6 separate regions of the Homo sapiens genome follow, and all the other regions are linked to region 1. Evidence: promoter capture Hi-C in human tissues and cell types (Jung and others, 2019). All regions are on one chromosome and are shown on one strand. Each heading gives the region's core, a stretch centred on a gene start or on the middle of the fragment in contact. The rest is flanking DNA. Distances are from core to core; before and after follow the strand shown.

Region 1 (2,897 bases), core at 109-2,608:
CCTCCAATACTTCTAAGTCTTTGTTTGTTGTGCTTTACTTTAATCGTTAAACTTTTGGCAAGCGATGTAAATTTGAATTATTCACTTCCTGGGGTACTTTTAATTCTTAAAATAAGACACAATGGTTAAAGCTTAATCATTTATGTTACAGAGGACATTTACTGAACAACAATAATTATTGTGACATTATGGTCTAGTCTCCTAAAAATGACATTGAAGGAAAGGGAACCGGAATATTCCAGACACTACAGTAGGTCTGAAATCTCATATCAAGTCCTTAATAGGTCAAAACTTACAGCCAGTATCAATTACCTAAGGGACTTAACGAAAACGTTTATGAAATCTTCAATTGGATTACAAAAGCAAGCACATCGTTGCACTGTATCTAAGACACTCTACAGGGCAAAATCTCATGAAACAAGTATTTAAGTAGTCTAACTTTTTAATGTTGCTAGTGTGTTCCCTTCTGCCTCAGTTTATAGATTGAGTATGGAAATATTTAAGCAGGTTTGTTTTTGGTTTGTCAGTCACAGGACTTATTTAGACACTTAAATTTATGATTTGGTTACTACAGACATCAAACTCCTTTTGGAATACGGAGTATAGGGTAAGGTCACTCTAAAGCAATGATGAGAGTCCGAAGCAACAGCAACTGGATCTAGCATAAGACTAGTACAATTCGGTCTCTACCACGAAGAGAGATCTCTGTACTTGAGTGCCCAAAGGCAGAAACACACACATGCCATAAGCAATCCACATCTGTGAAGATGAGGGAGGGGTGGACTTCTTGGGATGGGCGGAAACACTTACAACTAGGGAGGAAGCCAGGCTGCGGCGGACCCAGCTGACCAAAGGAACTACAGAAGAGGACGAAGAAAGCGAGGGGGAAAGGGCGAGGGTTATTAACTGAGTTGATGGAATAAGGTAGTGGCTCCAAACTTCACGGCTCATTAGAGCTTGAAAAAAAAAAATCAGACGCCGGGTCGCACAGAAGTAATTAAACCAATCCCTCTGGCGGTGGGGCCCAGGCGTCGGTACTTTTTTTAATTTCCCACTTGAATCCAATGGGAATCCAAGTTTAAGGGCTAGAAGACCAGAGAGCGACAGACAGGGAGGAGGCGCGCCAGCCAGGGGCCGAGGCACATGCGGGCCGGCAACAGCGAAGGCTCCGCCTCTTCCTGTGGCTCGGAGGAGCCGCGGAACCCCCAACGCGCGACTCAGACGGAGACACCCACTCTTTCGGCGCTAGCGGCGGCTGGAAGGGACGAGAGCCTGGCCTAGGAGGAAGGAGGCGGCTCCAGGACCGCATTACCTGATCAGAGCCGCGACCCTCATGCTGGGCGCAGTGCGCGTGCGTGCGGCGAGCGCGGGCGGGAGCCAGGAGGTCGCGCCGCAGCTCGCGTGACGCACCGCGGGGCCTCGCCCGGGTGTTCGCTCCGCCGCCTGTCCGCGGATCGGCGCTGCGAGCCCCGCGGCTGCCTGCGGGACACCTGAGCGCGGAGGGTGCGGCACCTTGGCACCTTGACCCTGTGGCAGGGACATCTCGGCCCAGGAAAGAATGAGGTTTAGGCACGGCCTAACCACCTAAGTGAGGGCACTGAAGCTGCCGGGGGAAGGGCAAGGTCCGCGTTGCAGAGCCCAAGCCCAGTGGCGCAGGATTTGTTTTGGTAAGAGGGGATTTAGCGTCCCAATTGCTGCAAATTGACACAGTTGCGGACGTGCAAGCGCAGAAGAAATTTGTCCTTCCTCACCCCACAGAACAGAAACAACTGTACACTTCTGCTTTTTAACTTACATCTCCTCTGTCCTCCAAACCTGTGTGTCCAGATGTGAAACTCAGATCCCCAGGGGCTGTGGTAATTTTTAAATCTGGGGCTAGCCCCCCCCACCTCTAGGCCCTCTGTGGCTTTGGCTCTTGGTCAAGCTTGTGTATTTGACAAGGCCAGGCCAGGCTCTTCACCAAAGAGCAATGGCCTTGCAGAAAGAAAATCTAGCTTCTAAGTTTATTTGCCAAGTATGTATTGAGTGCCTTTCGTGTACCAGGCACTGTTTTAGACTCTGTGGATACAACCGTAAATAAAACAAAAACCCGGCATTCCGGGCATAGAGCTTAAATGGGGATGGAGAGAACAGACAATACATATCTTAAAGGTAAATAGTCTGTTGAAGAGTGAAAAGTGCTATTGGAAAGGGGCGGGGTGCGGTGGGGGAGAGTCAGGAGAGAGGTGGAGAGGCAAATTGCAGAATTAAATCGTGTCTATGTAGGCCTTATTGGTAAGATGAGAGTTGAGCCAATTTAAATAAGGAGAGTTCGCTATGTGTATGATTGGGGTGTGCTCCAGACAAGAAAAAAAAATCGAAGGCTCTAGGTGCGTTGTGTGTTTGTGGAAGATTAAGGCAGATCCGTGTTGCTGGAGCAGATTGAGCAAAGCAGAGAGTAGTGGAGAGCAGGTTAAGGTGATGGAGGGGAAGGATTATATAGGGTCTTGTAGGTAATTGCAGACTTTTGAAGGGTGTGACTTAAAATTTTAAAAGGATTGCAGTGTTGAGAATCCACCTATTAGGAAGCTGTTACAGTGTTCCAGTAGAGAGATGGCGGAGCCTAGAATCAACATGGTGAATTTGGTGAGAAGTAAGAGGATTCCAGCTCTATTTTGAAGATAGAGCCAATAGAATCAAATTCGATATGGGATACAAGAGAAAGAAAGTCATGAGGGATGATGCCAAAGGCATGAATTAAGTAAGTTAATATATGTAGGGAACTTAAAATTATGCCAGGTACATAGTAAGCATTCAATTTTATTTTGACATTCTCAACTCTAATAGTAGGGGTGACTAGAGCAGTGACAGTCTACATATCAGTTTTAGCGTCTAGAATCATACAGCTTTAAGATTTT
Region 2 (2,897 bases), core at 131-2,630, 1.5 Mb after region 1:
GTAATAAGCAGTAGAAATCAATAAAGTTTTAGTTGCAAAAACATAAGGCCACAGAAGGGATGGTATACTCCAAGGATGTAGTCAAAGAGACAGAAGGAGAGATCTTTCACAAAGAAGACGGAAACGTACAACTTTACTGTCTTCTTGCTTTGTCAGTGATCTTGTCCTACGATCATGGAGATTGAACAGGCCAATATTTAAATCAAAACAAATATCCATGCTCATCCTCTACAACTTCCCAGGAGAAATTCCAATCAGATCCTTCACAAATTCTAATTTTATCCTAGTGAGGGCAACTGTATGGCATCAAATTTACATATAAGGACCCCTGAAGAATTTAACCAAATTTACCTTCTTCTGTTGAATTCTGTTATGTGCCATATGTTTTTGGAATGTATTTTTAAAAATTGGAAACCAGTGATTTCTGTGCCTTAATCATCATCCTGTTCATCAAGATCAGTAGCTTAGAAAACTTTGTTCACTTGACACTTGAAATGATGTCAGAGAAATGTTCATCTTCAAGGATGGGGTAAGACGTCTCTTCAGTATGGCAATTCCAAACTATCAGTAATTTTCTAAAACCATATATGGCATTACAAGCCTGTCACCAAATCAATACTTACAGGGTGGATTTTTAGAAAAGAGCTGATCTCCGTTACCATTATGACCTAGAAAGCATCAAAACAACTTTACTGAAATGTCCAGGCATATGATAGAAAATACCAAAACCCACCTGAAGCTTTCAGAATGAGGGAACATCTCTAGCCCATATTTTAGGTCTGACAACAGGTATCTAAGAGCATTTTGTTTTTTCTTTTAGAGATAAGGTCTCACTATGTTGCTCAGGGTGGACGCAAACTTCTGGCCTCAGGTGATCTTCCTGCCTCAGCCTCCCAAATAGATGGGATTACTGGCGTGCACTACTGTGCAGGACTGCTAGGTATCCGACATCATTTGACAACTTTTCTTGCAGACAGGGTGTGGTACCCTGGTTAAGTGTCTGGATTTAGGGATTAGATAGACCTGATTTACAATCTTAGCCCCACCACTTTCTAGATATTCCAGGTAAAGGGAAGTTTCTTAGTCTCTCTAAGCCTCAGTTTTCCCAACTGAAAAACCCACACAAGCTTATGAGGATTAAATTATACTAAACGTACAGCACAATGTTGGGCATAGAGTAGCTGTCAAGCATTAGCTATAATAATGATGATAATCTTGCTATTGCTGCCATATTTGGGTATACATATCATAGGTACTTTTCCTTGATCTAGCACTTTTTTCTGTCTATCAATGGTAATAATCAAATAGAACTGAGTCTCAGATTACGATAAAGCTAGTATCTGGAAAGATGGTGATTGAATTCCAGATGGCACTCTTTAAAATTTTTAAACAAGAAATTAGTTCACATATCACATTAGCTTTTCTCCTTCCTAATAGCATATGACACTATAAAGAAGCCATGAAAAATGAACTAATATAAAGAGAAAATATTTCTTCACCAATGGGTGTTAAGCTGCAAGATCTGTGTTGAAATTCTTGCTTAAGTCAAACAGTTCTTAGGCTAGAACTGGTCAAGATTTGAAACAAAACGATTTTTTTGTCCCATATATGAAAAACTTGATCAGAAGGATTTTATGGTGGGTTAAGTAATGATATGCGAAGACAGCATTTAGTCTGTAAAAGCAAAAACTAAATAGAACTTAAGGTCCAGTGATAACTTACACATTATCTCAACCAAAATAAAATAACATATTTTAAAACTTAAGATATCAAAAGAGAGAAAATACCTCATTTGTGTCTCCATACAATATATCAACTAAATAGAAAACTAGGAAATTAAAGACATCTGTGTACATATCCACTTATTTTCAGGACAGAAAGCAAACCAGCAATGCAGATACTACGTTAGTATATAATGCTGATAAGAAATCTCTATTTTTTCTATTTTTCTTTTGTATATTTACATAAAAACATATTTACAACGTAAATATGTAGTAATATATATGACCCCAATTGTAAACAAAAAACCATATCACTTATAAAAGTTTAAAATAAAAAGGACATTATGAATAATATTAGCAATCCTTACAGCAAATGATACAATAAAACATATTTGCACAGGCAAAGTGAATTGATTAGTTACATTTAGGCTAATTTCTTACTGCTATGCAAAATGGAATACTATTTTTGATTTTCATTAGTCAAAATAATTGAATAATTGGTCAACTTTCAAATTAATTTTAACTGTGTAGACACCATCGACATTGTCCTAGAACTTGAGCAAAGGAAGGTTATAAGAACACTTACGCATGGGAAAATGGATTGGATTGGAGTATCAAAAGCCATTGTCTTTAAGAAATCCTGAAACTCTATAGGTTTTAAGAAAGTCAGGATTAACTTCTCTTTAAACCACAAACCCAATCCAGTGAGTAAAAATCAACAAACAACTACAACATTTCTAAAGAGGGAATAAATTATCTATTGTCTGGTATCATTTCTTAGGCAACTAATTCCCATTGAAATGTTGAGCCAAAGATAACTAGATATTTTCAAAATGTGCTTTTTAGATCTTTAGCACAGAAAACTTTGAACATAGGATACTACGTGATTTTGAAATTATGCTGAAATATCATTCTCATTCCTATGATCACTCATGATGTAATATTTTTCAGAAGTTTTCAAGATCAGGTCAACTAGAGATTAGAAGTACTTACATAGTCTCAATTCAAAGTATGCCCTTTCAAAAGTGCATAATGTAAATTCTGGAAGCCCTTAGGTAGGTGGCAGTTTAAGCACTTTATATAGTGAACTGCTGGCAATGAAATGTAAGGTCACAACATCTAGACATGTGGCTTCATGCTTTTGACACTACTATAGGCACTGAGATACATTTCTGG
Region 3 (2,897 bases), core at 170-2,669, 1.4 Mb after region 1:
TCCATTAAGTTTTGTGTGATGAAAGAGGCAGCACAATTTAATGAAGACTATGCGATTTGGAAATCTGGGTTTGAACTCTGGCTATATCTCTTACTGAGTGATTTTGGACAAGTTCTTTAACTTTTCTGTGGCTTAATCTCCTCAAATGTAAAATGAGAATAAATTATATAGTCTACTTCAAAGACTTAACCTGAAGATGCAATGTGAAGTCCAATTTGTATTGTAAAGACATCAGAACAGTAGGTGAGAATTACAAGGAAACATATTTAAAAAATTCTACAAATAAATGTTAATGCTTACAATCCTGTAGACACTGCAAGGCATACATGGATGAAGAAGATTTAGTCTTGCTCTCAGAAAGGTTGGAGTTTAGCGGTAAAGCAATAACCATGCAATAAGATGAAAGAGTCTCAATGCCAGAAGAGTGGCCATGGGTGTGCAGAAAAGGTGGAGATAACCTGGATGAGAGCGGGAGGAGGAGAGGAAGCTTTGGGCCCTTCCTTGAAGGATTCTGACAGGAGGGAATGGGAAGGACAGAAGGAGAGAGAACATACCAGATAGAGAAAACTACTTAAGTAAATGCACAGATAGAGCAAGTACTCCTAGTCATAAGCTTAGTAGAAAAGGTACCGGACTGAAGTTAGGTGGTAAGTTTGAATTCTGCTGGTGCAATTTCTCAGCTACATGACCTCTCTGACTCACCATTTCTCATCTGTAAAATGGAGATGATACCTACCTCGTAATTGTAAAGATTAAAGATTTTAGGCCAGGCACATTGGCTCATGCCTGTAATTCCACCACTTTGGGAGGCCTAGAGGCAGGAGGATTGCTTGAGTTTAGGAGTTTGAGTCCCAGCTACTCTGCAGACTGAGGTGGGAAAAATCACGTGATCCTAGGAGTTTGAGGCTGCAGTGAGCTATGACCATGCCACTGTAGTCCAGCCAAGGTAACAGAGGGAGACTCTGTCTCCAAAAATAAATAAATAAATAAAGATTTATCCAAATAATGGGCATATTTGGATAAATTTTTGGACAAATACTTGTACAAATATTATCAATGTTTTATGTACTTAAGAAATTTTGGAGGGACAGGCACGGTGGGTCACACCTGTAACCCCAGCACTTTGGGAGACCAAGTTGGGTGGATCACCTGAGGTCAGGAGTTTGAGACCAGCCTGACCAACATGGAGAAACCCTGTCTCTACCAAAAATACAAAATTAGCTGGGCGTGGTGGCACATGCCTGTAATCCCAGCTACTCAGGAGGCTGAGGCAGGAGAATCTGTTGAACCCGGGAGGCAGAAGTTGTGGGAGTCGAGATTGCGCCACTGCACTCTAGCCTGGGCAACAAGAGTGAAACTCCGTCTCAAAAAAAAAAAAAAAAATTGGAAACAGTAATTTAAAAAATCCTCAATATTACCAAAAGAATTCTGATTAGTGGCTAGTTTATGTGTACAGTGGTCCAGTCATAGCACTAATTTCTATAATCACCTAAACATTGGAGGATGAACATTAAAATTTGTGTTATTGACTTGCACTTGGTATTTTATCTACAATGACCCATTATTAGAATGTAGATGAAATAGAGCAAGTAATAAGTGAGATAGCCTGAATTTTAAGCTATCTTGCTAGATTTTGTCTTTCAGAGTATCATTTTCTCCTTCCACTGACATGGATGAGCATAAACACAATAGGTGGATCTTTATTTAGAGCTCACAAATTATTCGTCCAAATATTTAGGCACGTAAGAACAACATACCCTTCTAGTTATTGTTCCTTGAAGTCAAGGATGAAGGAAGTTAAACTACATAGTCATTGGAGCATGGATACTGATGCTGGAATAAGAAAAACAAGAAGAAATGGAGGCTGGAGATTAAAGTCCCAGCAACACTTAGCAACCTATACTGCTTTTATTTATTTATTTATTTATTTATTTATTTATTTATTTATTTTTATTTTGACAGAGTTTCACTCTTGTTGCCCAGGCTGGAGTACAATGGCTCAATCTTGGCTCACCGCAACCTCCACCTCCCGGGTTCAAGCGATTCTCCTGCCTCAGTCTCCCTAGTAGCTGGGATTACAGGCATGCGCCACCACGCCCGGCTAGTTTTGTATTTTTAGTAGACAGGGTTTCTCCACATTGGTCAGGTTGGTCTCGAACTCCCGACCTCAGGTGATCCACCCGCCTCGGCCTCCCAAAGTGCTGGGATTACAGGCGTGAGCCACGGCGCCCGGTCTATACTGATCTTCAGGTACCACCTTTTTCTTTTTATAAAAGAATTCTTAGAGATCTTAGAAGGCTAAAGGGGAGAATGATGCAGAACCTGTTTCACTGATAAATAAAAACAGGTCTGCTAAAAATCCTTTAAGTTGAGCCCACATGGGATGATGACTTACGGATCACAAATGTGGGAAAATGGACCTCCATGCTTCCTTTGGCAGATAACAATCTCTTATTTCTCATTTTCACCAAATGAAGACAGTAGGAATACAGTCTTGACTTAGTGTATGAGAACTATACTCTCTGAATCACCTGTGTTCTGAGGATAAAACAATAAAAAGTTATAAAGTAATCAAGTCCTTAAATTTAAAAAGAAAAACTACTATGGAAGTCATGTGGAATCTGTTGTTCTACATCCTTTACCTAGACTGGAACTGACCAGTCTGACAAATATGGGTGGAAGCTGAAATTTAACCAGCGCTCACGGCCGGGAGGTAACAGATCTTGTTTTCTATTGGTAAAAGCACACCCCAAAGGTTTCAGAAGGGCCAGGAAAAAACAAAAACAAAAACAAAAACAAAAAAAAACCTCTGTTGTTCATTTTTAACCTCGAAGAGCCAAATAAATCTAGTAAATTCTCCATTTGTTAATCAAACATGGCATATAAAGCTTTCTAGG
Region 4 (2,897 bases), core at 230-2,729, 1.4 Mb after region 1:
GAGATTCATATGTTACTTAGGGACAGACTCATGGATCATAATGAATTTCCCTAAGCAATAGTTTGATTTATAATTTGATAGAATACTAGATTTGCCTACACCTTTAAAAACACATGAACTAAATACTAATAAATTTATAATATAAAAACATGATGTTAATCTGGAATCACAACATTTTGTACCTTTATGAATATGGCTTGAATAATGGAGTGTTCATGCTGACATAAAAGGCCCTGGACAAAATTATCAAGTAAGTGATGGCCTTCTACTGTCTTCTTTCAATATTCTTACTTTCATCTAATTCTTCCCTAAAGTTACAAGGGCTCCTGGAGGTTCTTTACTAAAATACTCTACTTTGAGCATGCCCTTCTCCATTATTGTTGTATACTCCAGACTTATGCATAGAGCAATACGGTGAAGAGCATGGGCTCATGTCCTCTGCCCTTTATTTGCTGTGTGAATTTGGACAGTTCTTCTTAACCTTCCCAAGCTTCACTCTGTTTCCTATCTGTAAACTGAGGAAATAACTGGGCCTGGGTGGTTTTGAGGATTGAGGGAGATTTTGTATGCAAGATCCTTAGCACAATGCCTGGCACATAGCAAGCTCATTAAATGTTAGCTTACAGTCAAAATGCACCTATCCAATGCTCCTAAATAGCTCTGTTCTCTCATAGATAGTAATTAGGAATAGGTGGGTGGCTGTTAAACAAATCTATGCTGGATTGGCCACAGGGTAATAACTGTGTTGTACTCCTACAGGTAGCGTGTGTTCATATCGCCGGATCTTTCTAAAAATCGGAGTTTAATCCAAATGTACAATGCTATGGTGGAGATTTTAGACACTGGGGCAGGCATCTGCCTGCAGGGGTGGGAGGTGGATAGGGGAGTGAGCTCTTTTGGAATCACACTCTCTGTATGGTTCTCTAGATCCTTGCTACTTTACATGTGTGCCATGGACCAGTAGCAACATCACCTTGAGCTTGTTAGAGATGCAGAAATACATTACCGTCCCCATTCCTGTGCTACTGAATCTGATTCTGCATTTTAAAAGATCTCCAAGGGATTTATGTACATTTAAGTATGAGAAGCCTTGCTCTAGATCACATATCAAATTCTAGTGCTCTGCTTAAGAATAGAAACTTGCAAAGATCAAGTTTTAATTGTGAATCTCAGCTGCAAAAAAATGCACATACTCTTCTCTTTAGGTATCTTAGATCTAAACAGCCTTTTACTCACTTGCCTTGGGCAATAAACACTTTATAATAATTTAATTTATTGTACTCCATCTGTACCTCTTAAAGGAAAAGCTGGGCCAGTAAAATGTTTTTGTGAAGACTGTTAACAGAGGCTATCTCTCAGGCATGGATAGGAGAATGGTAGATTTCTATCTTTTTTTCCAAATAATTCTGTACTGTTGGAGTTTTTAATAAATATAATTATTTTTATACATAAAAGAATTTTTAAAGGAGATCAAGAAAATTTGTTATCTTATTTGACTAAGGTTTATATGGGTAACTGTAGGGACCTTTTAATTAAAATATTTGAGAAATTTCCCCTCAGATAGGGAATTATCTTTTATTTCCTTTACAATATTGAGCAACAGTAAACACTATTCCATGAATACAATCACACTTGATGGCATGTAACAAAACATCCCAGCAGGTTACGATTTTGAAGCACTGTTACTCTTACAGAATGCCATCAGATTATTCATATGTAGCTATTTATCATGCACTATAAAAGTGATCTTTCAAAGCTATTTGAAAGCAAGGGAGGAGAAAACACTCAAACTTCCTTAGCTATTCACATCTAGGATCTATCCTCTTAAAGATAAAATCCTAAGTCAATAGACATAAGTTGTAGTATATTACCTCATCCTGTACATGATTTATTGCAGATGGAAGTCAACTAGAAACTGAATTACTTTGAAACTTTTACTACTGACATTAAAATTCCAGATCTGGATACCTACACACCTTACAGTGCTTCTGAAAATAACTTTTTGCAGACACAGAAGGTACACCTACAAGTTTATTTAACTCTATCAACATAAAAAGCAGGCACAATCATTTTCAAAACTACTGATTTCTAATTACCTATTCTGTATCTGAGCACTGTAGCCTGACCTGGCTTTGCAAATCAACCAGTCACTTCACAATCAGTTGCACACATTCTTAGCCAACTCCCATTATGTTCCTAGCCATTTTACTGTAAGAGGAAAAGATCCCAACAAATCTAGTAGCTTTTTAGCTTTCATGATCACCTTTGATTGAAGTATTAATTCTCTATCCTACTTCTTAATGGAAACCACCTAAGCATTAACTGGCCAAAAATGCACCAAGCTGTTTAGCAATTATGTATTAGATATGTTTGAAGAGATCAAGGTGCACTCACATGCCCTGTGCTATGGATATGTCTCTGATTAGCTTGTCATCTGCTCAGAAGAAGATGTAGGCTGATTCTCCCATACAGTCTAGCAGGCCAGCTGTTAGCTGCCTGTCAAGCCCTCAAGTGGACAAGTAGTCCAGGAGCAAAAATGTCACTCCTTTGATCTGGCAAGGAGCAGCTGCTGATTTATAGAGTAGGACTTTGTTCTTCCGTTCTATTTTACTTTCTTTCCTAAGGCAGAACCACAAAATCCAGGAGAAAAAAAAAGTGCCGTTCCCAGCAACATCAACAAGCTCTGACAACTGCAACAGGGTTTTTCTTGGCCCTAACAAAGCTCTCAGGCATCTCCTTTGACGCTCACCTTTCCCCCTCCCCTTCCTCCCACCCCCACCATTTTTTGCAATGCAGTAGTTATTGTTTAATTCAGCTTCTGTAAATGGAATGGACTGTGGCCAGCAAGCCTGGGGCATAAACACACCTGTATGAAAGAAGCCTTATTGTAGCAACCA
Region 5 (2,897 bases), core at 177-2,676, 1.3 Mb after region 1:
TTCATGCCATACATCATTCAAATGGAAGTTAGATATCTTCATATTAACTAAATTCATACCTGTAATGTTAAAATTTAGAGACCTGTAGTTATTTCTTTTTGTGTGCGTGTATTGTCATCATTTTTTCTGACTATAAAAGAAAAAGTAATCTCTGTAAGTCAATTGCATCTCCATTGTAAAATAATCCAATTTTATTCTATGAACATTATTATTACGTGGAAGAAGGAAGAGAAATTACTTATGACCAATATCAGAATGGTTTGATTTTTCTTGGTTCTGCCTTTGTTTTCAGTAGTCCATACATTGTCCTGCTCAGGGTATAACAAGACCCAAGTCACAAAAGGAAGAATTATAGTTTGTCTTTGAGAAATAAACTTTAACAAAAACTATTTTTAAATATGTTAATTCCTACTGAGAAAAACAAAGAAGTCTGAAATAAATAATATCAGATTCATGAATCTGAAGACTTAATGTTGTTAAGATGTCAGTTCTCAACAAATTGGTCAATAGACTCAATGCAATCTTAAGCAAAATACCAGCAGTGTTTTTTTTTCTAGAAGTTGATGGGTTAATTCTGAAATTAACATTGAAATGCAATGGACCTAGAATAACCGAGACGATTTTGAAAAAGAAAAATGAAATTGAAGAACTAATCTACCTAACTTCAAGACTTAGTATAGAGCTTCAGGAATCAAGGCAGTGTGCTAAATAGACACATAGATCAATAGAACAGACTAGAGAGTCTGGAAATAGACCCAGACTTAAATGCCAACTGATTTTTGACAAATGTGCTGAGGCAATTCAATGCAGAAAACATAGGTATTTCAAAATATAATGCTGGAACAACTATACATTTATAAGGAGAAGGAAATCTAGACCCCCTGCCTCACACCATATGCAAAAATTAACTCAAAATGGATCAGAGCCTAAACATGAAAGATAAATTTATGAAATTATTTTTTAAATAAGACAAAAAGATTATTTGATCTTGACAAAGATTTCTTAGATAAACCACAAAAAGCATGTATCATGATAGAGAAATGATAAATTGGACTTCAATGAAATGAAAAACTTCTGTTCTTTGAAACACACCACTAATAAAAAGAAAAGGCAAACCATAGCCTAGGAGAAAATGTTTACAAAACATATTTGACAAAGATTTGTATCCAGGATATGTATTTTAAAAACACTTACAACTCAGGGGTTGTAAGAAGACAAGCTCTCTAGGTTTAGAAGCTGGGCAAATGATTTGAACAGGTACTTCACAAAAGAATATGTACAAATGGCCAATAAGTACGAGAAAAAGTGTTCAACATTATTAGTCATTAGGAAAAATGCAAATAAAAACCACAAAATATACACACCCATTAGAATAGCCAAAGTTTTAAAGACTGACAATATCGAGATTTGGGGAGAATATGGAAAAATTGAAATTTTCATACATTGTTAGTGGGGAGGTAAAACGGTGCAACACTTAGACAGTTTAAAAATTTCTTAAAATTTTAAACATACATTTACCCTATGATCCAGCAATTCCACCCTTGGATATTTATCCAAGAGAAATGAAAACATGTGTCAACACAAAGACTTGTAATGAACATTTATATGAACTTAATTCATAGTAGCCAAAAACTGGAAACAGCTCAAACATCCATCAACATGTAAATGGATAAACAAATTGTTGTACTTTTCTCTTAAAATTGATTCATTTTTATTGTATGTAAATGACATCCCCAAATAGTTGATTTTTTTCAAAAACTGTATTAACTCTGATTACTGAGACTTTAATGCTCTGGTGCCAGGTAGGGACTATCCTTAATACTGCTCTGGTAGGACCATTTTTTTAGGTCAGCGGTGTTACTGATAAATATGACATTCACATTTGAAGTATTTATTTGAAATATTTGAGAGAAGCATTGTTTAGAAACATTGTGAACATTAACAAATTGAAGTGAATTGTGCATATTATCATAATTAAATGAAGGAAAATTACATAAAAGCAATCCCCACATTTAAAAGTGAGCTTAGAGAGTGTCTTAGTTTCCAAGGACAACTATAACAAAATACCACAAACTGAGTGGCTTAAAACAACAGAAATTTATTGTCTCACAATTCCAGAGACCAGAAGTCTAAAATCAAGGCATTGGCAAAGCCACTCTCCCTCTGAGAACTGTAAGGGAACCCTTCCTTGCCTCTTCTAGTTTCTGGTGGTTTGCTGACAATCTTTAGCATTCCTTGGCTTGCAGCTTCATTACTCCAATCTCTGCCTTTGTTATCATGCGTTATCTCCCTGTGTATCTCTATCTTCAGATGACCGTTTTCTTATAAAGACATCAGTCACGTTGAATTAGTGGCCCATGCTGTTCCTTTATGACTTCATCTTAACTAATTACATCTGCAATGACCTTACTTCCAAATGTAGTCACATTTTGAGGTACTAGGAGTTATTTGGAAGGGATACAACTCAACCCATAACAACTGGTAAAAATGTGGAAATCACCCGTATTTTCAACAGGACAAGAGAATCTGGTTCTCTCTCTCATTGACCAGAGGTAAGTGATTTATTAATTCATTCCATCACTTATTCAGTAATCCATTCCTCTATTCATTAATTTAATAAACATTTATAGAACACCTACAATGTGTCAAGTCTTATGCTAGACACTGAGGATGCAAAGAAGAATAACAAGACCCTACTGTTGTAGAACTAGGGTGTCATCAAGGTAAGAGACAAGTAAACAAATACTTAAAATACCTGTTGGATATGTCATCATGAAAACTTATTCCAAGTTGCAAGGTGGCAGAGAGAAGAGAGTATTTATGCCTGGGCATTTCTGAAAGATAATAGCATTGGAGCTGAGGCCTCCACAAGCAGCAGTCTTTCTCTAGGAAATATA
Region 6 (2,897 bases), core at 257-2,756, 1.1 Mb after region 1:
ATCCTATGGAAGGTTGAAATTCAATGTGGTAACTGCCAATTATCTAAAAGGAAGTCTATTACTTTATGATAAAACTGTCAAAATAATGATTGGGTACTCCTACAAATTGTACAGAGAATCAATAAAACCAATATTACGTCACAGTTTGAGAATTTAGGAATTCCACTTTTCTTCTTATTCATGAGAAGACGCTAATATATTTAAGAATGAGATGATACGAAGTTTTTCTTTTGTGCTTCACCTTATAGCTCTTATTTTAGTTGTTAATACTATTTTGCTTAAGAAGCTTGATGAACAACATTCTTGGAAAATATGAATAGTATTTTTTCATTAGCCAGATAAAAATATGCAGACAATATGAGCTATTTTCTTTACAAGAACATAAAATACAACACGTCAAGTAGATTGTAGGTAATTTCTGCTTCATTCAGGACCTATGTGTTGGCCTCTTGGATTATAGTTGATCTGTGATGTCATTGTATACAAGCTAACCTTTGTATTTTAAAGGGGATTCCCTAACTTATTCTTGCTAAAACTGATTATTATGTGTAGGTAAATGTTTTGTCTTCTTCACTAAGCCACCTAATCTCCAATTTCTTGTTTTTGTTTTTCAGCCTGAGAAGATGTTTTATATAATCAGTACAGGACTAATTTTTCTTGGGCTCAGTGTTCCTTGTCTTGGTTCATTGCCTAGATACATCCATAAATATTTGTTGACTTGAGGTGAATATTTTGTTGATAATGTACCTACCATTTCCTTGTGACTCTAGGGTTGAGAGGGTATCAAGAAATTTTGTAGCTAACATGTAAAACATTTCAATAGAACTTTATAGTTTATAAGAAGTTTTGATATATTTTATTTGACACATAAATAGCTCTGACATAGCTAAGGCAAATGTTATGATTGCATTTTATAAATGATAAACTGAATTTCAGGTTAAGTGACCAGCTTAGTCATACAGTTAGAAAGGACAAGAGCTGGGACTTGAACTTGGAAAACCCAAGCCTACATGTCCTGCTTACTCTTGTTACATGCCTGAATGCACAAATGAACAAACAAAAGCAATGAACGAGTGGGAGAATCTGTGTCTTCTGATTTCAGATTCATCCTCTCTCCATTATTTAATGAATGTAAATCGACTGCATTGTTTAGATATTGCCCAAGTGTTTAGCATCTCTTACTGTCATAAAAGTTTTTCTTCTTTTTACCTAAATCTCACCTATTATCATTGGTGCATATTTCCACAATATGTCGAGTTGGAGTCCCAGTTTGATCCTATACTAGCTGTCATCCTGGGTGAAGTCTTCCAGAGCCCTAGTTTGCTCTTCTTTAAAATCAGATAACAACATTTACCTTTCAAAGTTAAACAGATTAAAGATGATTTTGTAAATTGCCTGGCATGTTACTTGGCACATAGTAGGCACTCAAAGAATCATGATTTTTATAGTAATAGGCAGTAATATTCCAACAAATACTTACACTTGAGCCATATGAAGGATTAATTTCCCTTCTTCTTCGTTAGGTACTCTTGAATTGTGAATTCTCTGATAATTTTAGAGATCCTTTTCGGAAACCTCTTGAAATAATGTTTACGATGCTCTGTATGGGCGGAAATTAATTATGGTCTTATGAAAGCTACATAGAATGGAGGCTGGCCTCAATTTCCTGAATTCGTTTTCTAATTTATTATATCTTATAGTAACAAAACAACAGCATATGTTTAGATCTATCTGCATATGCACTATTGAAATTTACTTTTTTCCTGCTGTAATTACCCATACTTGTATCTTATACTTCTGGAATTCTTATAACCAACATTCTCAAAAGTAACAGGGGTTGATGTTTTTAGTGGTAATGAAAGGGTTAAGTTTGTCATAAGGTCATTTCTGGGAGAAGCAAGTCTAATAGAAAGCTTTTACTTTTTTAAAATAAAATTTTATTTTGGGATAATTTTAGACTTACAGAAAAGTTGCAAAGATAGTACAGAGAGTTCTGCCTATATCCATCACTCAGTTTTAGTTATCCCTAATGTTATCATCTTATATTACTGTGATACATTTGTCAACACTAAGAAACCCTCACTGGTACCTTACTATTATTGATTGCACTCCAGACGTAATTCAAATTTCACCAGTACCCAATCCAGGATTCCACATTACATTTAGCTGTCTTGTTTCCCAAGTCTCCTCTGGTGTGTGAAAGCAATCTTTTCTTGTTTTTGATGGTCATGATGTTTTTGCAGAGGATATTCTGCATAATGCCTTCAATTTGGATGTGTCTAAGGTTTTTCTCATAGATTTGGGGAAGAATAAGGTGAAGTTCCCTTATCATTATATCATATCAAGGGGTATGTGGTATCAACATGATTTATCACTGGTTATGTTAACCTTAATCTGTTGGTTAGGTTAGTGTTTGCTAGATTTCTCCATTGTAAAATTACTATTTTTCCCTTTCCATACTCTCTTCTTTGGAAGCAAGTCACTAAATTTAGTACACACTCAAGTTGAGGAGAATGATTAAACTCTGCCTTCTGGAGAGAGGAGTGTGGAGAGATATTATTTGGGTTTCTTCTGTAAGGAAGTTTAGTCTCCTCTCCCTGTTTATTTATCATTTTTATATTTGAACTTACATATATGTATAATTTTGAGATACAGTCCCACTAAACAACTTTTATTTAGATTTAGAACTTAAATTTGTAGCATACATTTTAATTTTTTCTTTTAATTCCATACTCCTTCTTCTCTTGTCTGTGTTACCCATAAACTGAGCAAACATATATCCTTGTCTGCTATTCATTTCAGTGATAAACTATTTAACAGAAGTCCAGAGTAGCGCTCCTCTTCAAGAACACAGATAAACTCTTTCGTTAGTTACTCTTGTTAATAAAGAGGCCTGA

The links. The method cuts DNA at HindIII sites, captures the fragments that hold promoters and counts their contacts. A contact is called where the count stands out against the background at its distance.
Region 2: a contact is called between a fragment that was not itself captured here and the fragment with the promoter of DPH6 in region 1, in 1 of the 25 tissues and cell types used here (dorsolateral prefrontal cortex).
Region 3: a fragment that was not itself captured here is called in contact with the fragment with the promoter of DPH6 in region 1 in 3 of the 25 tissues and cell types used here (dorsolateral prefrontal cortex, lymphoblastoid cells and spleen).
Region 4: a contact is called between a fragment that was not itself captured here and the fragment with the promoter of DPH6 in region 1, in 1 of the 25 tissues and cell types used here (spleen).
Region 5: a contact is called between a fragment that was not itself captured here and the fragment with the promoter of DPH6 in region 1, in 2 of the 25 tissues and cell types used here (dorsolateral prefrontal cortex and lymphoblastoid cells).
Region 6: a fragment that was not itself captured here is called in contact with the fragment with the promoter of DPH6 in region 1 in 1 of the 25 tissues and cell types used here (dorsolateral prefrontal cortex).

What each region holds. Positions count from the first base shown.
Region 1 is chr15:35,544,807-35,547,703 of GRCh38, forward strand. DPH6 (diphthamine biosynthesis 6) reads right to left here and starts at 1,359. Exons shown (of 9, transcript NM_080650.4): 1 at 1,313-1,359. The coding sequence starts at 1,335. It overlaps DPH6-DT (DPH6 divergent transcript), which reads left to right and starts at 1,389. Exons shown (of 3, transcript NR_038251.1): 1 at 1,389-1,667. RefSeq lists an enhancer at 360-1,294 and silencers at 1,342-1,481, 1,782-1,831. The HindIII fragment of the contact is 5,169 bases long and covers 1-2,897 here.
Region 2 is chr15:37,062,396-37,065,292 of GRCh38, forward strand. All of the region lies in intron 7 of MEIS2 (Meis homeobox 2), which reads right to left. Among named protein-coding and RNA genes, the nearest start is that of MEIS2, 37 kb to the right of the region's middle. The HindIII fragment of the contact is 4,894 bases long and covers 1-2,897 here.
Region 3 is chr15:36,918,212-36,921,108 of GRCh38, forward strand. The region is part of intron 9 of MEIS2 (Meis homeobox 2); the gene reads right to left. Among named protein-coding and RNA genes, the nearest start is that of MIR8063, 53 kb to the right of the region's middle. The HindIII fragment of the contact is 5,263 bases long and covers 1-2,897 here.
Region 4 is chr15:36,901,547-36,904,443 of GRCh38, forward strand. The region is part of intron 9 of MEIS2 (Meis homeobox 2); the gene reads right to left. Among named protein-coding and RNA genes, the nearest start is that of MIR8063, 70 kb to the right of the region's middle. The HindIII fragment of the contact is 6,207 bases long and covers 1-2,897 here.
Region 5 is chr15:36,834,746-36,837,642 of GRCh38, forward strand. No RefSeq gene overlaps it. Among named protein-coding and RNA genes, the nearest start is that of MIR8063, 140 kb to the right of the region's middle. The HindIII fragment of the contact is 7,525 bases long and covers 1-2,897 here.
Region 6 is chr15:36,667,497-36,670,393 of GRCh38, forward strand. The region is part of intron 5 of CDIN1 (CDAN1 interacting nuclease 1); the gene reads left to right. It overlaps LOC124903466 (a long non-coding RNA gene), which reads right to left. Exons shown (of 3, transcript XR_007064582.1): 3 at 1,402-1,600. Among named protein-coding and RNA genes, the nearest start is that of CDIN1, 89 kb to the left of the region's middle. The HindIII fragment of the contact is 5,881 bases long and covers 1-2,897 here.